Linked DNA regions of Homo sapiens: regions 1, 2, 3, 4, 5 and 7 are each linked to region 6. The links are contacts of gene promoters, found by promoter capture Hi-C in blood cells and fetal thymus (Javierre and others, 2016). All regions are on one chromosome and are shown on one strand. Each heading gives the region's core, a stretch centred on a gene start or on the middle of the fragment in contact. The rest is flanking DNA. Distances are from core to core; before and after follow the strand shown.

Region 1 (2,951 bases), core at 82-2,581, 690 kb after region 6:
ATAAGGTGATTCGCTAGGGAAAGACAAGGAGGAAGCCATGTTTTACTAGCTTCAAAGCACACTTTAGCCGCTTTATTAGGAAGTAGTATTTCTAAGACTAGTATTGGTAGGGGTATATGCAGTGTCTTTATGTGGCAATGGGGAAGGTAAGGTACTTTGACAAGGATTCTAAGACTGACACACTGAAAACACACACTCCAAGAAGATGTACACTCCACAATCTTCAAACTCACAGTTTCATGAACATTCTGAGAGCTAGTAACAAGGTTAATAATTTAAGCATTTACTAGATAAAGGTACTATGCCAGATACTATTCCAAGCATTTCCCAAGTACTGTCTCATTCTTATTATTAGCTCATGGATATTGTGTCATTAATATCCATTTTTAAATGACAAATCTAAGAGAGGTGAAGTAACTTGCCCAAAGTCACAAAGCTAATGTGCAGTGAAAACAGAAACAGGACACAGAAAATCTGTTCTGGAGCCTGTGCTAATAATCAGTACTCTATAATACACTCCTATTTATTCCTAAAACTTAAAGACAGCTTCAGTTCAATTAACTTAGCAGCTTTGGTCTGTTTATGCAATCGGTTATTGCACGTTTCAATCTGATCTTGATTATACTTGCACAGTGAACTTTAAGTGAAATTAACATTGTGGTGGTCCTGATAAACTGGCCATACCTCTCCCTGAGAATTTTTCAATATAACCTTCACATCTTCGCCAGTGCCCCACGAGTTCTGGTTCTTCCAGATGAGGTCAGTTGGGGGGCTGGCTGTGACACCAGCGTTTGCAGCCCAAATCTGTAAAAAACCAAAGCATGTCAGTACACCCAGAACCCAGTTCTCCCACACGCCAACGACAGCAATGCGATGAGACTCAAACACTTGATTCTAAAAGTCTGAGAACTATGCCCCAGCTACAGAGTGCTATACACAGCTATGTGGCCAGGAGAACTCACAGAGCTTCTCAAGGCCTCAGCTTCCCCATCTGATAAGTGAAGATGATAATATATAAGACCCTGAAGTAAAACTGCCTACACTCACATCCTAGTTCCTTTACACACCAGCTGACCCTGAGCAAGTTACCTTACTTTAGTCATCCATAAAACAGGGTAGAAATGGCACCTGTAACAGGTGCGATTATTGAAAAGAGCAAGTGATAACCCACATTCAGTGGCTGGCTAACTCAGTGAATGGTAGCCTCAGCGTTCTATTACTCTGTGGGTTTTATAGGCCATCCTTCCATGTTAGAGCCTTCTGTGACTCCCTCTAATAATGTTCTCTGGCTGCCTACAGCAAGAACTAAAGAGACCTTCTGCAGCAGAGAGCCTATCTAGAATAATCTTATGGAAACTGGTACGTCTCCAAACAGACAATGTCACAATACCCTAGAGTATCTGAGACTGCGCTCCAAAAAGAATGCTGGAAATGTATAAATCACTCGCTGTTCAAGGGAAAATATAATTGCTATTGAAATAGGTCAAAGAAATAATTATATTTCCCTTCTCATGAGCATGAAATTCTTTTTATATATCTACTGGCAAAAGAGAATGGATAGAGTGAAGAACACCTGGCAGTCAGAAAGCCTAGGTTTGAATTCTGGACAAATCACTACACCTCTAGGAAACTCAATGCCTTTAGCTACAGGGATACTACTAGCCCTGATCTCTTAGAAAGATCATTTAAAAACAAATAGAAACAGAAAAGTTTGTAATCCATACATTGTTATAGAATATAAAAGACTTTATGACTGCAAAAGGAAAGCTGAAGATGGCAAAGCCAAGTATTATTTCAAAATGGGGGCCAGGTGTAGTGGCTCCAGCCTGTAATCACAGCACTTTGGGAGGCCGAGGCGGGCAGATCACTTGAGCTAAGGAGTTTAAAACCAGCCTGGGCAAAATGGTGAAATCCTGTCTCTATCAAAAAAAAGAAAGGGTGGGGGGGTGGGGTGGAAACAGGAAAAAAAAAATCTATGAATTACTGATTAGGAGAGAGCCCTTACTTTTGAGATGTTCCCCTGAAGCATCCAGATCTTTCATCAGCATTACAAATGGAAAAGGGCACAAGATATTAACTGGGATTAAACTGAAAAAAAGAACTGAATCTGGTCCAACATTCAGACTATGTGGAATGTTAGTGTTTCCCTAATTGTAAGCAATATTTCTCACTAGCCTATATGTAATCACATAGTTGATTTATGTTAGTAATCATCATCATAAAATGTCAGTATCCTTGCTGGCTAACTTAACCTAAAACTAATATGTCCTATAGCCATGTCATTCAATACCGCAGCAAAATGTGGCTTGTTAGCACTTAAAATATGGCTAGTCTGAAATGAATGTGCTGTAAGGGTAAAATACACACTAGATTTTGAAGACTTAGCTAAACATAAAAAAAAAAGAATGTAAAAATATCTGACTTTTTAGACTGATTACATGTTAAAGCAATATTTTGGATATATTGGGTTTCATAAAATATAGTTCTAAAATTCATGTCTTTCTTTTTTACTTTAATGCGGCTATAAGAAAATTTAAAATTACACATGTGGTTCTCATATTTCTATTCTAGAGTTTTAAACTGATCTTTGCTTTTGCCTCTGCAATTTTACAGAAAGATCACTTATTACTACCATGTTCCAAAGAGCTGCTTATCACATTTAATGCCAGTAACTGAAGGGAAAAAAGTATCACATTATTTTATATGATAATTGAGTTATCCACTAGATCTCTAGAATCCATGTATTTAGTCCCTGAGGTAGTATACCCAGTAGAAAAAGCACATGATTGGCATAAGGCTTCCATATTACTTCTGAGATAGAGAGCACACTCAATTCTGAATCCTCTGAACTAAAATGTCAGATTCTTTTTACCACATTATACAGCTTCCATAAGACATATAATAGCAATTGCTATAGTGAGCAATTTTTTCTCACTATAGTAATTACTAAC
Region 2 (2,700 bases), core at 84-2,583, 720 kb after region 6:
ACAATACTTACAAAAGCTACTGACTCAAAATTAATTACTTAACAATTACAAACAGTAATTTTTAAAGCTCAGGTCATAATGTGGTACTTCTCAATGTGATCCTGCCTCATGGCAGGAGAATGACCTGTGCCTTCCAGGGACCAAAATGGTCCAGCAAGAATGATACTGCATAAAACAGCATGTCAACTTTACAAGTTATTGTATGGAACAACCTGTAAAATCGGCATATTTTATGCAGTATTGTTCTTGTTTATTTGACTTCACAGATTTAATAAGTAATACATGCAAATAGCTCAAAACTCAAGATGTCATACTACCAAGTGAAAGATACTGTGTTCAACATCTTGTGGAGTGTAGAAAACACAAGAAGCCAAAAATTAACCCAAGGCAGTACATCCAGATGACTAGAATATGGTGATTTCTTCCATAAAAATAAAAACCAAAGAAGATAAGGAGGACAGGGGATGAAGAGAGTATTTACTTGTGGTACCCTGAGGGCCACCCAATGATACCAGTGGAAATTTTATAGGAGCTTTAATTTCAATCATGACTAATGCTTCTACTGTTCATTTTATGTCAAGTTCTTAGTCACATAAAACACTGTTCTATGAAAATATAAATTGTTCTGTTATAAATTACTTCTTGGCCAAGTGCGGTGGCTCACGTCTATAATCCCAGCACTTTGGAAGGGAGACTAGCCTGGGCAACACGGTGAGACCCCATCTCTACTAAAAATAAAAAAAATTAGCCAGGCGTGGTGGCACATGCCTGTAGTCCCAGCTACTAGAGGGGCTGAGGCGGGAGAATCACTTGATCCCAGGAGGTCGAGGCTGCAGTGAGCCCTGATCGTGCCACTGCACTCCAGCCTTGGTGAGAGAGTGAGACCCTACCACCAAAAAAAAAAAAAAAAAATTATATATATATATATATATATATATATATAGTCTGGCTGCAATGGCTCACACTTGTAATCCCAGCACTTTGGGAGGCCGAGGCAAGCGGATCACCTGAGGTTGGGAGGTCAAGACCAGCCTGACCAACATGGAGAAACCCAGTCTCTACTAAAAATACAAAATTAGCCAGGCGTGATGGCACATGCTTGTAATCCCAGCTACTCAGGAGGCTGAGGCGGGAGAATCGCTTGAACCCGGGAGGCAGAGGTTGCGGTGAGCCAAGATTGTGCCATTGCACTCCAGCCTGGGCAACAAGAGTGAAACTCCGTCTCAAAAAAAAAAAAAAAAAAAAAAAAAGAAGATACAGTGTAGGGTCCAGTGTCCCATCAAGCCCCATCCCAACAGTCCTAGTTTTCTGCAAAACAGTTTGAAAACTTCTGACCACCAAGAAATATGCAAGCTCCTTGGCATGGCAGTCCCCCTAGAAAGCCCTTCAGGTCTAAGTCCTAAAGACCTTCTGAGCCTCGGACTTCACTCTCCCCCACTCCATGCCATCTATTCCCATTCCTAACTCCATCTAATTCCTAACCAACTGCCATTGGAAACTAAGACCAAGGATGGAACAAATGTCATCCTTCCTCTGTAATGCTTCCCTGCTTTACCTCTCCTAGCAGAAAAAAATCATGTACCTTTCTGGGCTCCACAGCACTTGGTGCATCATTCTCATATGGTGCATGGTATATACATCTTTTTAAAATTTAAGATTCCATGTCTGTCTCCTACACTGGAATGTGGGTAAAATGAGATTACCTTCAGATCCTCAGTGCCTGGCAATGTCTGGTATAGGGTGGGGATACTCAATAAAATTTCTGTTAAAAAATGAAAGAAGCAAGCCACAGGAAAGCAGTGCTTACAATTTTACTTTAATATAACAACTCATGAAAAGATAAGTACTCAGCCTCTGTTACAGAGGACCCAGGTTATTCTGAGACCCAAATAGTCAATCTAGATCTGCCCTGCAGTGCCTGTACAAGCCACCACAGCCTTCACAAGCAGGTGGGCAGCAGGCATTGTACCAGGCACTGAAGAGAACTCAAGAGTCAGCTACCGCCCTTGGTGCAAAGTAATTTATAGTCTCTTCTCATAAGAGGTTATGAACACACTTTTGCTTTTTCTAACCCACACAAATGTACAGTGGCATTTATATGCACTCTTATGCACAGGTACACAGGAGAGTTTCGAGACGGTGCGGAAAGGCTCAGTCCAGGTCCCTAGTTTTGAGACATATTTACCTAATCCAGCAGACATTACTGAGTATCTACTATGTACTACCAGGAAGAGAAAGATAAATAAATAAGACAGGGTCCCAACTAAGTGCGTTTTTAGTATTCCCTTCCTTCTTCTGGACCCTCAGTACCTTTACTGCTCAGGGTCAGGCACTAGGCCATGTCACCACACTTAGGTGTGTAGCTGTCTAGGTAGCATAAAGACTTATCTTGCAGATGCTGAAGTAAAATGATGAAAAGGGACTTGTGGGGCTACCTGCACTGGGAGCTCAGGGCAGACAGTTCTTACAGCTGTCCTTACCTTGTGAGCCCTTTAACTCCACAAACAAATTGTTCTGTGTTCATATATTTTTCCTCTTCCTCCTTAGGCCACAATATTAACAGTGAAAAAGTCAATGCATCGCGGCCGGGCGCGGTGGCTCACGCCTGTAATCCCAGCAGTTTGGGAGGCAGGCGGATCACGAGGTCAGGAGATCGAGACCATCCTGGCTAACACGGTGAAACCCCGTCTCTACTAAAAA
Region 3 (2,824 bases), core at 315-2,814, 670 kb after region 6:
CCTCAGGGGAACTCTGAATTCCATGCAATTGGCTGAGCGACATTCTCGGCACACATAGCCTGCCGTTTCCATGAAAGCACTCTGGACTGACCTGGACCCTTGAGTTCGGGTGCCTGTGAGTACCCAGGACCACTCAGGAACACCAGGGAAACAGACTGAGGCTGCAGGACTGTGGCCCCTCTTTCTCCACTGTTCTGTCTGCAATCAAGTTCTGGCTGGAGTCTAGACGGATTCTTCCAAGGTTAGAGCAAAATGCCCTATCAGGATCACCAGCTGTATCCCTTAGCTAATGCTCTGAGAGATCATGGCCAGTTTTTAATAAGCTCAAATCGTCTTAACGAGAAGTCAAAGAATTTGAACCTCCCCCTTAACGTCCCCAACCTTGGAGCTGTTGTCATGACTGCGGAGGCGAGAACTTCACCTTTGAAACTCAGCCTCCTACCAGACAATTCTTTCCTAATGACCATTTCCCATAAAAGACCAGTGCTCCTGAAGCGTGCCGTGTGGTGCCTGCCTTTTATAACAGCAGTTGACCACAGTTGTTGTTCTACACATCGGTGTGAATATTTGATTGATGCCCCCCACCCCCACCCCAACCAGGGTCAGGCAGAAATTTCTTTTCGCTCACCATTGTATTGCCAGTGCACAGCATGCAACTTAGTAAGTGATTAATCAATGTTTGTTGTGGGCCAGGCACAGTGGCTCATGCCTGTAGTCCCAGCACTTTGGGAGGCCAAGGTGGGCAGATCACTTGAAGTCAGGAGTTAGAGACCAGCCTGGCCAATATGGTGAAACCCCATCTCTACTAGAAATACAAAAATTAGCTGGGAATGGTGGCGCACACCTGTAATCCCAGCTACTTGGGAGGCTGAGACAGGAGAATTGCTTGAACTTGGAAGGCAGAGGCTGTATTGCACTCTAGCCTGGGCAACAGTGAGACTCCGTCTCTCAAAAAAAAAAAAAAAGTTTGTTTAATTAATATTAATATTTATTAATAAAATGAGTAAAATGTGGTGTTTCCAGTGTTCTCAATGGCCTTCCTTGTTTAACCACTCAGTTGACTTAACCCAGGAGAAATGTTAATTCTGACTGGCACTATTTTTGCTAATAGACTTACTTAAGCCAACAATAATTAACAGCCCTGCCATTTTATAACAGGACAGCCTCACCTTACTTCCCATCTTAATTCCCGTGATCAAAAAATTTTAAGTTAATTAGTTTTAAATTCCTATTTCTTTACAACCTACTATATTGGTATGACCATCTTACATGGCCTCATTTATTCCACTATCAACTCTTTGTAACAGGATCTTTAGTTCCAATTTACAGATAAGGAAACTGAGATGCAGGAATGTTAGCTTTTTTAGACTTACATCACTAAGTGACAGCAACTTAGTGTCATTAACTACTTCTCTTATCAAGGGTTTTCCATTCACAGACCTAGTTCAAAGGCAAAAACAATGTGCTGTTTATTCTTTCTACGTGAAGTCTATCTATGGAGAAGACCCATCTATGTGGGAAAGTATAAATTTGGGACATAACCCATGACTATAATTGAATTCTCTATCATTAAAAAATCATTTATTTTATTTCCTTTCCAATCAAAGCTGAATCACCAGTTCCAATAATTCCTGTTATTCACAGCATCCCCACCCTACCCCCATCAGGATAACTTGGATGTACTTGCATACCCTCTGGGTCATTTTCAACACTTCCTAGATACAGTAACACATTGCATCACTGGGGTCCAAACTGCTTTCACCTACTTGCTGGGTGGTGTGTTAGCTTACCTAAAGGTGACTATCCCCCCAAAGGAGAGTTTTAAATCAGAACACTTAACTACCTCCCTGATGTCAGGGAAAGTGCATCCTGAAACAGCCAGTTTAGGAAAGGTCATTCTACCAGGGCTGTGGCTTTCTGCCTTATCTGAGAGCTTACGATGCGATAGTGGGAGGAAGGCAGATTGAGCAAGAGCTGGAGCTGTTCCTGCTCCTAAGTCCATCTTCATACGCTGAGAGGTGCAAATCAGCTAATATACAAGAAAGCATTTTCTAAACCTCACCATGAAAACAATGTTTATTACATTTGCCATTAATTTGAAGAACATTAGAAACAACAGAGATTTTAAATAGGGATTTGGGGATTATCCGACAGTTGGAATTGTTCCCATTCATTTCAACAATTAATAGCACCGTTTTCATTAGTAAACTGGCTATGTTATTTTTTTTTTTGACAGCTCCCTGGGATAGCAGAATAGGCATAGTCATCAAGGATAATAGAACTGTGATCACACTGAGTTCCTCAAGAAAAGAACTGGCTGTCTCATCTTGGTATTCTTGATGCCTTGCTCAGTAGCGCCTGGCAAAACTAAATCTCCCAGTGAATGGTTGGTGAAGGAATGAACAAGTGAATAAATGACAACCTGTGGGCCTGTTATCCCATCTACAAAACAAGGACAATACTAATAATGCAGTATTGTGAGCTGTAAGGTAATGTTTGATGTGACAACTCAAGCATGAGTGAACATTCAATAAATGTTTGCCCCCTTTCCTTTCACCCTGCTTCCTCTTGATGGGTCTTATGCTGCTTTTCTGCCTTCCTATGTGAGAGTGAAAGTGTCCCGTGTGTCAGAGACCAACACGTGCTGGTGTGTACTCCCCACATGTCAGAGCAGCACTGCGTTTCCAGACCCTGCCCCTGTCGGTTTCTCCCAGTGGGGTCCCCAGTGTTCCCCAGCTGTAAGGTCCGGTAAGGGCCCAGCTTCAGGTCCCCTCTGGGATTTCTGGTATAAGGTCTGCCTGAGTGACCCAAAGCATTCACCTCT
Region 4 (2,757 bases), core at 110-2,609, 870 kb after region 6:
GGCTGCTGTAACAAAATACAGTAGACTGTGTGGCTTAAACAACATTCATTCATGTCTCACAGTTGTGGAATCTGGGAAGTCCAAGGCCAAGGTGCCAGAAGATTGAGTTCCTGGTGAGAGCCTTCTTCCTGGCTTGCAGATGGCCACTTTCTTGCTGTGTTATCACATGGTGGAGAGAGTGAGTGAGCTCTGGTCATTTTCTCTTCTTTTTTTTTTTTTTTTTTTTTTGAGAAAGACTCTCGCTCTGTTGGCCAGTCTGGAGTGCAGTGGCACAATCTCAGCTAACTGCAACCTCTGCTTCCCAGGCTCAAGCGATTCTCCTGCCTCAGGCTCCTGAGTAGCTGGGATTACAAGCATGTGCCACCATGCCCAGCTAATTTTTGTATTTTTAGTAGAGACGGGGTTTCACCATGTTGGCCAGGCTGATCTCGAACTCCTGACCTCAGGTGATCCGCCCACCTCGGCCTCCCAAAGTGCTGGGATTACAGTGTGAGCCACTGTGCCCCAGCCCTCTTTCTCTTCTTATAAGGACACTAATCCCATCATGGGGGCTCCACCCTCATGACTCCATCTAAACCTACTCACTTCCCAATACAATCACATTGGGAGTTTAGGTTTCAATCTTTTAATCTGAGGGGACAAAAACATTTGGTCCCTAACAACCAGTAAGTGTAATTATGTAATTATTCAAGATAGTATAAATGCATATTTCTTCTGCTTTATTTTTTTAACTGATTTAAACAGCAATGGTATAAAATAATATGTATACACTGTATTTTGGGACCTATAACATAAACAAATATATTTGCCTGGATGGGCGCTGTGGCTTACGCATGTAACCCCAGCACTTTGGGAGGCTGAGGCAGGTGGATCACCTGAGGTCAGGAGTTCATGACTAGCCTAGGCCAACATGGGGAAACCCTGTCTCTACTAAAAATACAAAAATTAGCAGGGTGTGATGGCACATGCCTGTAATCCAAGCTACTCAGGAGGCTGAGGCATGAGAATCGCTTGAACCTGGGAAGCAGAGGTTGCAGTGAGCCAAGATCACACCACTGCACTCCAGCCTGGGGGACAGAGTGAGACTGTGTCTCAAAAAAAAACATTAACAATTTAAAAAAACAAGAAATATATTTGCTAATAACAGCCCAAAGGAGATGGGTGGTAGCATAGCTGTATTGGACTAAGGAAATGACTCCAGATGGTAACTCAAATCCACAGGAACAAATGAAGAGAGCCAGAAATGATAAGTGAGAAGGTTGATATAACAAAAGCTATGAATATATACTTGCTATCTTTCCTTCTTTCAGCTTCTTTAAAAGACATAAAATTATATAATGATTATAACAATGTACAGTTGTATTTGTAACATTTAAAAATGTAATATGTGTAACAGTAATAACACAAAAATGGGGGGCAAGAAATAGAGCTATATCGGAGTAACAGGTCTATATCTCACTGAAATTAAATTAGTTGAAATCTGAAGTTGATAAATTAAGTTGCATATGGTAAGCCTGAGAGCAACCACTAAAGAAATAATTCAAAAAATGTATTAAATAACTATTAAATAAATTAAAGTGCTACTTTGAAAATATTCACTTAGGCCGGGCGCAGTCGCTCACACCTGTAATCCCAGCACTTTGGAAGGCCAAGGCAGGTGGGTCACCTGAGGTCAGGAGTTCGAGATCAGCCTGGGCAACATGGTGAAACCCCGACTCTACTAAAAATACAAAATTAGACGGGCGTGGTGGCACATGCTTGTAATCCCAGCTGCTAGGGAGGCTGCGGCAGGAGAATCGCTTGAACCTGGAGGCGGAGGATGCAGTGAGCAGAGATCGCGCCTTTGCACTCCAGCCTGGACAACAAGAGTAAATCTCCATCTCACCAAAAAAAAAAAAAAAAAAAATTCACTTAATTCAAAAGAAAGCAGTAAATGTAAATTGAGGAACAAAAAGGACATGAGGCATATGGAAAACACAGTAAAATGGCAAATATAAATCCAACTATATTCATATTAATTCAGCGTTATTTATTTTTAATATTATCAATAATAATAAAAACTCGGGCCGGGCGCGGTGGCTCATGCCTGTAATCCCAGAACCTTGGGAGGCCAAGGTGGGCGGATCACGAGGTCAGGAGATCAAGACCATCCTGGCTAACACAGTGAAACTCCGTCTCCACTAAAAAAATACAAAAAATTAGCCGGGCCTGGTGGCGGGCGCCTGTAGTCCCAGCTACTCAGGAGGCTGAGGCAGGAGAATGGCGTGAACCCAGGAGGCAGAGATTGCAGTGAGCCGAGATCGCGCCACTGCACTCCAGCCTGGGAGACAGAGTGAGACTCTGTCTCAAAAAAAAAAATAATAATAATAATAACAAAAACTCACTCAAGGAAAAAAAAAAGACAATCTGAATAGACTTACTACAAGTAAAAAATTGAATAAGTAACCCAAAACCTAACTGCAAAGAAAAGCCCAGGCTACGGATTGCTTCACTGGTCAATTCTACCAAACATTTAAAGAAGAATTTATACCAATTCTTTTCAAACCCTTTCAAAAAATAGGAAGGATATTTCCCAATTCATTCTATGAAGCCAGTATTAACGTGATAGCAAAGCTGAACAATGATATCACAAGAAAAGTACAGAGCAATATCCCTTTTGAATATGGATGTAAAAGTCCTCAGCAAAATACTATCAAATCATATCCCGCAGCATATAAAAAGAATCACAAGCATACCTCATTTTCTTGTGTTTTGCAG
Region 5 (2,987 bases), core at 451-2,950, 750 kb after region 6:
AAAAAAAAAAAAAAAAAATAGCTGGGCGTGGTGGCACGTGCCTGTAGTCCCAGCTACTCGAGAGGCTGAGGCAGGCGAATGGCTTGAACCCGGGAAGCGGAGGTTGTCGTGAGCCGAGATCGCGCCACTGCACTCCAGCCTGGCGACAGAGCGAGACTCCGTCTCAAAAAAAAAAAAAAAAAATTGTCAGTTTTCTTTTAAAATTATTTCCTGTCCATTTTTTAAGTTTTAAGATTATATGTGATTCCAGCAATGATCTCTATTGCTCTCAACCCCATGAAGCTTTGTTTTTTGTTTTTGTTTTTGTTTTTTTTTTGAGACAGAGTTTCGTTCTTCTTGCCCAAGCTGGAGTGCAGTGGCGCGATGTCAGCTCACCACAACCTCCATCTCCTACCTCCTGGAGGGTTCAAGCGATTCTCCTACCTCAGCCTCCCGAGTAGCTGGGATTACAGGCCTGCGCCACCACACCGGGCTAATTTTGTATTTTTAGTAGAGACGAGGTTTCATCATGTTGGTCGGGCTGGTCTCCAACTCCTGACCTCGTGATCCACCAGCCTCAGCCTCCCAAAATGCTGGGATCGTAGGCGTGAGCCACCACGCCCGGCCTGAAGCTTTCTATTGATAGAGTTCCTCAATTTTCAGATTATTTGAAGAGGCTCACATTATACATATCCTATTATATAAAACAACTTTCTTGGAGTCAGACAATTGAGGATGTGCTACTGATAGCTGTATAACTTTAAGAAAATTATTCCGTGATTTCCTTCAAGGAAAATGGAAATGGAGCCGGGCACAGTGGCTCACGCCTGTAATCTCAGCACTTTGGGAGGCTGAGGCGGGCGGATGACGAGGTGAAGAGATCGAGACCATCCTGGCCAACACGGCGAAACCCCGTCTCTACTAAACATACAAAAAAGTTAACTGGGCATGGTGGTGCGCGCCTGTAGTCCCAGCTACTCAGGAGGCTGAGGCAGGAGAATCTCTTGAACCCAGGAGACAGAGGTTGCAGTGAGCCGAGATCGCGTCACTGCACTCCAGCCTGGCGACACAGCGAGACTCCGTCTCAAAAACAAAACAAAACAAAAAAACACATGCCGGGCTCGGTGGCTCATGCCTGTAATCCCAGCACTTTGGGAGGCTAAGGCAGGTGGATCACCTGAGGTCGGGAGTTCGAGACCAGCCTGACCAACATGGAGAAACCCCGTCTCTACTAAAAATACAAAATTAGCTGGGCGTGGTGGCGCATGCCTGTAATCCCAGCTACTTGGGAGGCTGAGGCAGGAGAATCGCTTGAACCTGGGAGGCAGAGGTTATGGTGAGCTGAGATGGCACCATTGCACTCTAGCCTGGGCAACAAGAGCAAAACTGCGTCTCAAAAAAAGAGAAGAAAGAAAAAGAAAATGGGGGCCGGACGCGGTGGCTCACGCCTGTAATCCCAGCACCTTGGGAGGCCGAGGTGGGCAGATCACCTGAGGTCGGGAGTTCGAGACCAGTCTGACCAATATGGAGAAACCCCATCTCTACTAAAAATATAAAATTAGCCGGGCGTGGTGGCACATGCCTGTAATCCCAGCTACTCAGGAGGCTGAGGCAGAAGAATCGCTTAAACCTGGGAGGTGGAGGTTGCAGTGAGCCAAGATCGTGCCATTGCACTCCAGGCTGGGCAACAAGAGCGAAACTCGTCTCATAAAAAAAAAAAAAAAAAAAGAAAGAAAGAAAGAAAAGAAAATGGGAATGGTTTTTACCTTGCACAGGATTTGTAAAGATTTAATAAAACAATATATGCAGTGTGTTAGACATACAACATGTGAAGGCTAAATAGTAACGCTTACTAATAGTAATCATGTGTTTCCATTGAAAATCAAGGAAAAAGAATGGAAAATCTTGAAGCCTTAGAATTAGGTAATTGTGGCCGGGCATAGTGGCTCACCCTTGTAATCCCAGCACTTTGGGAGGACAAGGTGGGTGGATCACTTGAGGCCAGGAGTTTGAGACCAACCTGGCCAACACAGTGAAACTCCATCTCTACTAAAAATACAAAAAATTAGCCAGGCATGGTGGTGGGCACCTGTAATCGCAGCTACTCGGGAGGCTGAGGCAGGAGAATCGTTTGATCCTGGGAGGCAGAGGTTGCAGTGGGCCGAGATAGTGCCATTGTATTCCAGCCTGGGCAACAAGAGTGAAACTCCGTAGCAAAAAAAAAAACAAAAACAAAACACACACACACAAGAATTAGACAATTGTGCACATTTTTGGTCAGCTACTTTACAAAATATACACTTTCCTTATTCTCTAGGTGTTTCCCATACCTAATGCTAAACCTGGATTATGGCCTTCTGTTCTCTCATACTAAGTTAGTCAAGCTCCCTTTATTCAAGTAATTCCTGAAATCTTATCCCTCCAAAGTTTTCCCCAATGAATTAGAAGTAACAAATTTGTAAATTTGGTGACAACACTTCTGCATTTACTAGGATAGTGGTGATTTCAAATATCCTGCCTTTGTTTTTACTATACACCTCCATTTACTTGTCAGGGCACATGTCCTGATTATTGGTTAGACCATATATATCCCCACCAAGTCTCAAAATGCCATGCCATCATTTTCCCTTGTCCATACTCCTCCTACAACTACCTCACTACATGTAAAGAACTTAATTGACATTTGTCCTACTTTATGTATGTCATTTGGATCTGGGACAGAAAAATATATGATACATAAGACATCTGGGGAGAAGGGGCCATACTAGGATGGGGTGAGAAGGAATGGGGAGGAGAGACTGAAAGCTTAGCAGTAACCCACTTTTGTCTTGGGAGAGGGGAGTGACAGCTGGCAGATAAATTGAGTATACATTGCAAACAAATAGGATAGCTAGGACTGCGACACAAAATGAAATAAAAAATTGCTAAATGGTATCTCTTCAATATATGTTTGCTGAATGGATGAATGAAGAAATAACTGAATACATGATCTTCTCCTGGAACAGATT
Region 6 (2,987 bases), core at 485-2,984:
CTTTCAAAAAGTTTGGCTGTGAACGTAGGAAAGATCTATGGCACTAAGCAGAGAACAGGGATCCGGGGAGGCTGAATCCTTTCATTCAGTACCTATACATCGAAGGTAAATAACCTGAGATAGAAATGCCCCTTTGGAGATTTTACCACTCCTCAACCAAAGCTCCCTCTTTTCTTCATTTAATTTTTTATTGGTCATTCACCCTCTACTACAGATGCTCCCCAATCCTTACAATGACTAGTAGAAGTCCTATTGTAAGAGAATCCCTAACATTAACAAATGTGTCTGCAAAAGAAACTGTACAATGAATACAAAGTCATTAAGTGGAATAAATAATCAATTTCTTTGTCTTTAATGGCTTTTTATATGAAAACTGCCGTAATGGCAATACTGAGGTAAATTTTACATGCATAAACATAGTGCCTTCTACTAAAAAAACCTATTATGATAAAACAATACTGAAGTGTCAGAGTTGGTAACTGTTTTAGGGCTCAAGTCTTGTCACGAAAAGTACTATTCATATATCAACACTAAAGAAAAAGTGAAGAAAATGGTTTGGAAAACTGAGTTCTCAGTCCGGCTAGACCCTGTTGTTCCAATTTGCTTGTGCCTTGGTTTTTCTGTTAAAAAAAAAAAAAAAAAGTGGATGTCTATTTACAAGTTTACAAGAAATGGAAGAGTGAAGCTCTGATAAACTTTAAAGCATTAAGAGCAATTATTGCTGACCTACTCGTGCCACAAGATTGTCTCTACTACCAAACAGTGAGCGCTAGTTAGAGCCTAATCTGACCCCGAAATAAAATTTTATAAATTTTCACTGAATTAAACACTGGCTGCACAGGAGAAAGACTGAATGCCAAGATGTGTCACGATCGCAGAAATGCACATGTTGTCTCTCAAAATAACTACTTCGAATGACAAAAACACTATTGGCTATAAATTCTGTCAATCTAGGAAACGTGCTATCTGCAAATTTGCCTGAAGCAGGTCCCAAGACCAAACAAAGAAACGAGAGAATGCAAAAACTCTCCCAAGCGGCGCTAAGCACCGATGGGGTAACCTCAGGGAAAATAAGCTTCCTTTCATTGCAGGTCCTGGTGTGATGACTCTCGAGCCTCCTGGGCCTCTCCAGGGCCAGAGCGGCCGAAATCCTGTTTCAGGAGACAGCGGCTTCCCCTCAGGCTCTGCCACGTCTCCAGGCCAGACAGGGCCGGGCTAAGGTCCGCCGGCGCTCCCGCCAGTCTCCCCTAAAGTCAGCGCCCTGGAAGGTGGGGCCAGAGCGCTCCTGCCTTGGTCCTTGGACAGGAGCAAAGTGTCGCGGGGCGAGACCCTCGAACCGCGCCCACCGTGCCATCCCCAGCGGAAACTGCTCACCTTGCGATGTGCACTCCTGCCTGCTGCACCCCGCACGCCGCCACAGCTGAGCCTGGACCACGGGACTAGGGGGCTCGCAAACGACATCGGCGTCCAGTGGCGCCGGCCGGCCCGCCCACCTTCCAGGGACACCGTCCCTCGGGGTCTGGCTCTGGCGCCTGCAAGCCATGCCATGCCATGCCACCCCCCTCATACACGCCCCTCGGAGCCACCTGGCGCTCACCTGGGGACCGGGAAAGTGCCTGCGTGGTCGCTGAAGAGTGTGGTATGATAGGGAGGTCGGGACGTAGAACTACAGCTTGGAGAAGACAACGAAGGCGCACCCTGGAAGTTACCTCGGCGTGTCCCCGCCTACAAGATGGCCACGGGCGGCGCATGCTCCTGCGGCTGCCACGTCGGCCGCGCGCCGCACCGCGCCGCGCGTCGCCGCCCCGCCCCGCTCCGCCCCGCATCGCATCGCCCCGCTCCGCCTCCGCATCGCCCCGCCCCCCCTGTCCCATGCGCTGTGAACCCGGCCGGGACGCTGCAAGTTAAACTTTGGAGCCAAGATCTTCCTAACTACCGAGACTTGGTTCTGCCCACACCCTCTAGAAACATCTTCCAAAGGGCTGGCCTCCTTTCTACTTCGCAGCCCCCTTACACGAGAGTGGCACTCTTGTTACCAGGCGTAGCTCACTCATCCTGTGCCACAGCGGCCCAAGGGATAAGATCAGTTAGCCAAGGTCATCTGGTTGGCGGTCATCTAGCCAACATCAGCTAGTCCAGTCAGCACCTCCAGGAAGGACCTCGCGGCAGATACAGGGGACTTAGCCTGTATAGTCAAAGATTTCCAGATAACAGTGATTATATCAGGAGAGAGGGATTAGGAGAAGAGGGAGAGGGGAGAAGAGTAGCAGTTACTGTACTGAATTTTTCCCCAAGTGCATGTATTGCACATTCTTTTTTTAATTGTAAAATAGACAGATTATCAACTTTCTTATTATATGCTGCACCTAACACAGTACCTGAAATAGTTGGTGTTCAATAATGTACATTAAATAAATTAATGGAGTGCGATAGAGGAAAATAAGGAACTTCAAATCAGAAGTCTTGATTTGAGTCTGAGACTACTCTAATGCCAGTTGTACAGTTGCCTGCCCTTGTACAGGTCACTTAGTCTCCATAAGTCTTCATATTTCTACCTGCAAACTGAGAATAATACTATCCACCATCCCTAAATCAGGCAGGTGACAGACTCAAATAAAATAGAGCATATGAAAATTTTTTAAACTTTTTGTCTTTTTGAGATGGTGTCTTGCCCTGTTGCCCAGGCTGGAGTGCAATGGCGCCATCTCGGCTCACTGCAACCTCTGCCTCCCGGGTTCAAACGATTCTCCTGCCTCAGCCTCCCGAGTAGCTGGGATTACAGGCACAGGCCACCACACCCAGCTAATTTTTGTACTTTTAGTAGAGACAGGGTTTCACCATTTTGGCCAGGCTGGTCTCGAACTCCTGACCTCGGCCCGCCTCGGCCTCCTAAAGTGCTGGGATTACAGGCGTGAGCCACCGCACCTGTCCGAAAACATTTTTTAAATTGCTTAGCATTAAATATATAAAAAATTGTTTTTGTTGTT
Region 7 (2,792 bases), core at 170-2,669, 830 kb after region 6:
CCCAGGCTGGTCTCAAACTCCTGGGCTCAAGTGATCCTCCTGCCTTAGCCTCCCAAAAGAGTTGGGATCACAGGCATAAGCCAGGTCACCTGGCCTGCAGTGGGTTTTTGGTGGGTTTTTGGTGGGTTTTTGTTTGTTTGTTTCTTTTTTTGCCCCAGGATTAAATAAGTTTCACTATTTCCTTTGTCTCTTAAATCTTTTTAAATCTCACTTGTGGCTGGGCATGGTGGCTCATGCCTAATCCCAGCACTTTGGGAGGCCGAGGCAGGTGGATCAGAAGGTCAGGAGTTCAAGACCAGCTTGGCCAACATGGTGAAACCCTGTCTCAACTAAAAGTAAAAAAATTAGCCTGGCATGGTGGCATGTGCCTGTAATCCCAGCTACTTGGGAGCCTGAGGCAGAGAATCATTGGAACTGGGGAGGCAGAGGTTGCAGTGAGCTGAGATCGTGCTACTGCACTCCAGCCTGGGTGACAGAGCAAGACTCCATCTCAAAAAAAAAAAAAAAAAAAAATCTCATTTGTTTGTTGAAGAATCTAGGCAACATGTGAATTATTAAACTTTATAAATAAGGAAGTAAAAGAGCACAAAGAAAAAGATACCAAACTCCTTTTAAAACATAATAAGGCCGGGCACAGTGGCTCACACCTGCAATCCCAGCACTTTGGGAGGCCAAGGGAGGAGGATCACTTGAGGTCGGGAGTTCAAGACAAGCCTGGCCAACATGGTGAAACCCTGTCTCTACTAAAAATGCAAAAATTAGCTGGGCATGGTGGCGCATGCCTGTAGTCCCAGCTACTTGGGAGGCTGAGGCATGAGAATCGCTTGAACTCAGGAGGCGAAGGTTGCAGTGAGCCAAGATTGCGCCTCTGTACTCCAGTCTGGGCAACAGAGTAAAACTGTGTCTCAAAAAAACAAAACAAAACAAAACAAAAAAACAGAAAATACCATAATGGATTCAAGTTAGATAGTTAGATGTAGCTAAGAATCTCTAGCTAAAATTAGACTGGGAGATAAAATATGGCATTTAAAGTAGAGTGGTAAACTGCTTTCTCAAGGCAAGTCACTTTGGTTATTTCTCTTTCCTCTTCTGTCACCTGAGGGAGAATGGGGGCCTCAAAGGAATAGAAAGACCCTCTTGGATGAGACAGGGCTAGGAGGTCGAACCAATGTCAGAGTAATCTGTTTAAAGAAAAGAAGGCTACCGGCCCCCAAAGACAATTTCAAAGGAGGGCTTTCAGTGCCAGCCTTCTATAATTTCAGAGTAGAGTACTGGCTCCTTGCCCACCATACGCAAGCTATTCTATTTTCTTTTTCTTTTTTTATTGAGATAGAGTTTTGCTCTTGTCCCCCAGGCTGGAGTGTAATGGGGCGATCTTGGCTCACTGCAACCTCTGCCTCCTGGTTTCAAGTGATTCTCCTGCCTCAGCCTCCCGTGTAGCTGGGATTGCAGGTACGTGCTGCCATGCCTCGTTAATTTTTGTATTTTTAGCAGAGACAGGGTTTCACCATGTTAGCCAGGCTGGTCTCGAACTCCTGACCTCAAGTGATCCACCCACCTCGGCCCTCCAAAATGCTAGGATTGCAGGTGTAAACCACCACGCCCAGCCTCTATTTTATTTTTCAACAAACTTGAAGTTGCTCTGCCCGGATCTTCTTCAGGGCTCTGAAATCCCTAACCCTGCTGTGGGGAATGTCAATGGGTGAACCGCATGGAGCTACCTTTCCCAGGGCCTTCCCAGAGGGCAGCCCTAGGCCAGTGATGGGCTGCAGGGGTTGGGGGCACAAACTCCTGTTTTTCTTACCTCAATTTGTTATGATGCTGAAGGACCATCCCAACTCCAGAGCTCATCACAGAACTGTAGAGCAGGCTGAGTTCTCAGCTGCAACTGCACTGTGGGTTTCTAAGGCCTCTGGTCTCAGGCAGGCCTAGGAAGGGAGCCCAGCTGGACAGGCAGCAGCAACCATGGCTCCCAGTGCCCAAGGACCAAGGGCAACAGGTGGACAGCCTTGACCAAGACGTGTCCTGAAAGATGGTCAGGCCAGGGTACTCCAAGGGTACATAGCTCTTCCCTCAATCCACCCCCCAGTAAATAAGCACAAAACCTGGCCACTGCAGTCTTAGCCCCCAGGGATTCCCTGACAGACCATAGAGAACTCCCAGAGCCCTGGGGACAGCTGTACTTGCCCCACATTAAAAAAAGAAAAAGTGCTGCTTTCCTCACTTCCTGCAGGTGTTATCTCCAGAGAACACTCCCCAACAAATCTTCTGCACTCATTTCTATCTCAGAGTTTGATTCCCACAAACTCAAGCTAAAATACTTGGTTTAAAAAAAAAAAAGTCTCCTTCCACTCTTATTCTCCAGCCACCCAGTTTCTTTCCAGAATCAATGATATTTATCAATTTGCCATATATACTTGCAGAGATATTCCATGCAGTTACAAACATACATGCATGGATTCTGTCTCTCTCATTGTTTTTACACAAATGGTAGTTACTATACAAATCATTCTACGCTTTGCCTTTTTCTTTTAATCATGTATCTTGCAAATCTGCCTTATTATTTTTAATGGATGTTTATAATAGATGTTCCACGGGTTATTTGGCCATTACTCTATTATTATTGTGTATTAAGTTGCTTCCAATCTTTTGCTATTACATACCATACTACTTACATACTATAATCTTGTGTATGTGTCTTTTCAGAAGTATGTGATCACATCTCTAACATACACAGCTAGAAGTAGAATTGCTTGGTCAAAGAATATGTGTCTTAATTTATTTCATTTTAC

What was found. Contacts are between HindIII fragments. The CHiCAGO score rates a contact against its expected background, and 5 or more counts as called.
Region 1: a fragment that was not itself captured here is called in contact with the fragment with the promoter of PRRC1 in region 6 in 2 of 17 cell types (naive CD8 T cells and M2 macrophages); the score reaches 7.1 in naive CD8 T cells.
Region 2: a fragment that was not itself captured here is called in contact with the fragment with the promoter of PRRC1 in region 6 in 1 of 17 cell types (fetal thymus); the score reaches 5.6 in fetal thymus.
Region 3: a fragment that was not itself captured here is called in contact with the fragment with the promoter of PRRC1 in region 6 in 2 of 17 cell types (total B cells and naive CD8 T cells); the score reaches 6.1 in total B cells.
Region 4: a fragment that was not itself captured here is called in contact with the fragment with the promoter of PRRC1 in region 6 in 3 of 17 cell types (total B cells, endothelial precursors and M2 macrophages); the score reaches 6.7 in total B cells.
Region 5: a fragment that was not itself captured here is called in contact with the fragment with the promoter of PRRC1 in region 6 in 1 of 17 cell types (non-activated CD4 T cells); the score reaches 5.6 in non-activated CD4 T cells.
Region 7: a fragment that was not itself captured here is called in contact with the fragment with the promoter of PRRC1 in region 6 in 1 of 17 cell types (naive CD4 T cells); the score reaches 5.6 in naive CD4 T cells.

Annotation. Positions count from the first base shown.
Region 1 is chr5:126,823,841-126,826,791 of GRCh38, reverse strand. LMNB1 (lamin B1) reads right to left here. Exons shown (of 11, transcript NM_005573.4): 9 at 685-804. Among named protein-coding and RNA genes, the nearest start is that of LMNB1, 48 kb to the right of the region's middle. The HindIII fragment of the contact is 6,087 bases long and covers 1-2,951 here.
Region 2 is chr5:126,799,195-126,801,894 of GRCh38, reverse strand. All of the region lies in intron 1 of LMNB1 (lamin B1), which reads right to left. Among named protein-coding and RNA genes, the nearest start is that of LMNB1, 23 kb to the right of the region's middle. The HindIII fragment of the contact is 6,808 bases long and covers 1-2,700 here.
Region 3 is chr5:126,848,387-126,851,210 of GRCh38, reverse strand. No RefSeq gene overlaps it. Among named protein-coding and RNA genes, the nearest start is that of LMNB1, 73 kb to the right of the region's middle. The HindIII fragment of the contact is 7,004 bases long and covers 1-2,824 here.
Region 4 is chr5:126,642,296-126,645,052 of GRCh38, reverse strand. No RefSeq gene overlaps it. Among named protein-coding and RNA genes, the nearest start is that of SPMIP10, 12 kb to the right of the region's middle. The HindIII fragment of the contact is 3,063 bases long and covers 1-2,757 here.
Region 5 is chr5:126,771,338-126,774,324 of GRCh38, reverse strand. All of the region lies in intron 1 of LMNB1-DT (LMNB1 divergent transcript), which reads left to right. Among named protein-coding and RNA genes, the nearest start is that of LMNB1-DT, 3.7 kb to the left of the region's middle. The HindIII fragment of the contact is 2,173 bases long and covers 614-2,786 here.
Region 6 is chr5:127,516,387-127,519,373 of GRCh38, reverse strand. PRRC1 (proline rich coiled-coil 1) reads right to left here and starts at 1,734. Exons shown (of 9, transcript NM_130809.5): 1 at 1,598-1,734. RefSeq lists an enhancer at 1,557-1,736 and a silencer at 1,797-1,866. The HindIII fragment of the contact is 4,735 bases long and covers 1,078-2,987 here.
Region 7 is chr5:126,686,063-126,688,854 of GRCh38, reverse strand. No RefSeq gene overlaps it. Among named protein-coding and RNA genes, the nearest start is that of SPMIP10, 56 kb to the right of the region's middle. The HindIII fragment of the contact is 4,504 bases long and covers 1-2,792 here.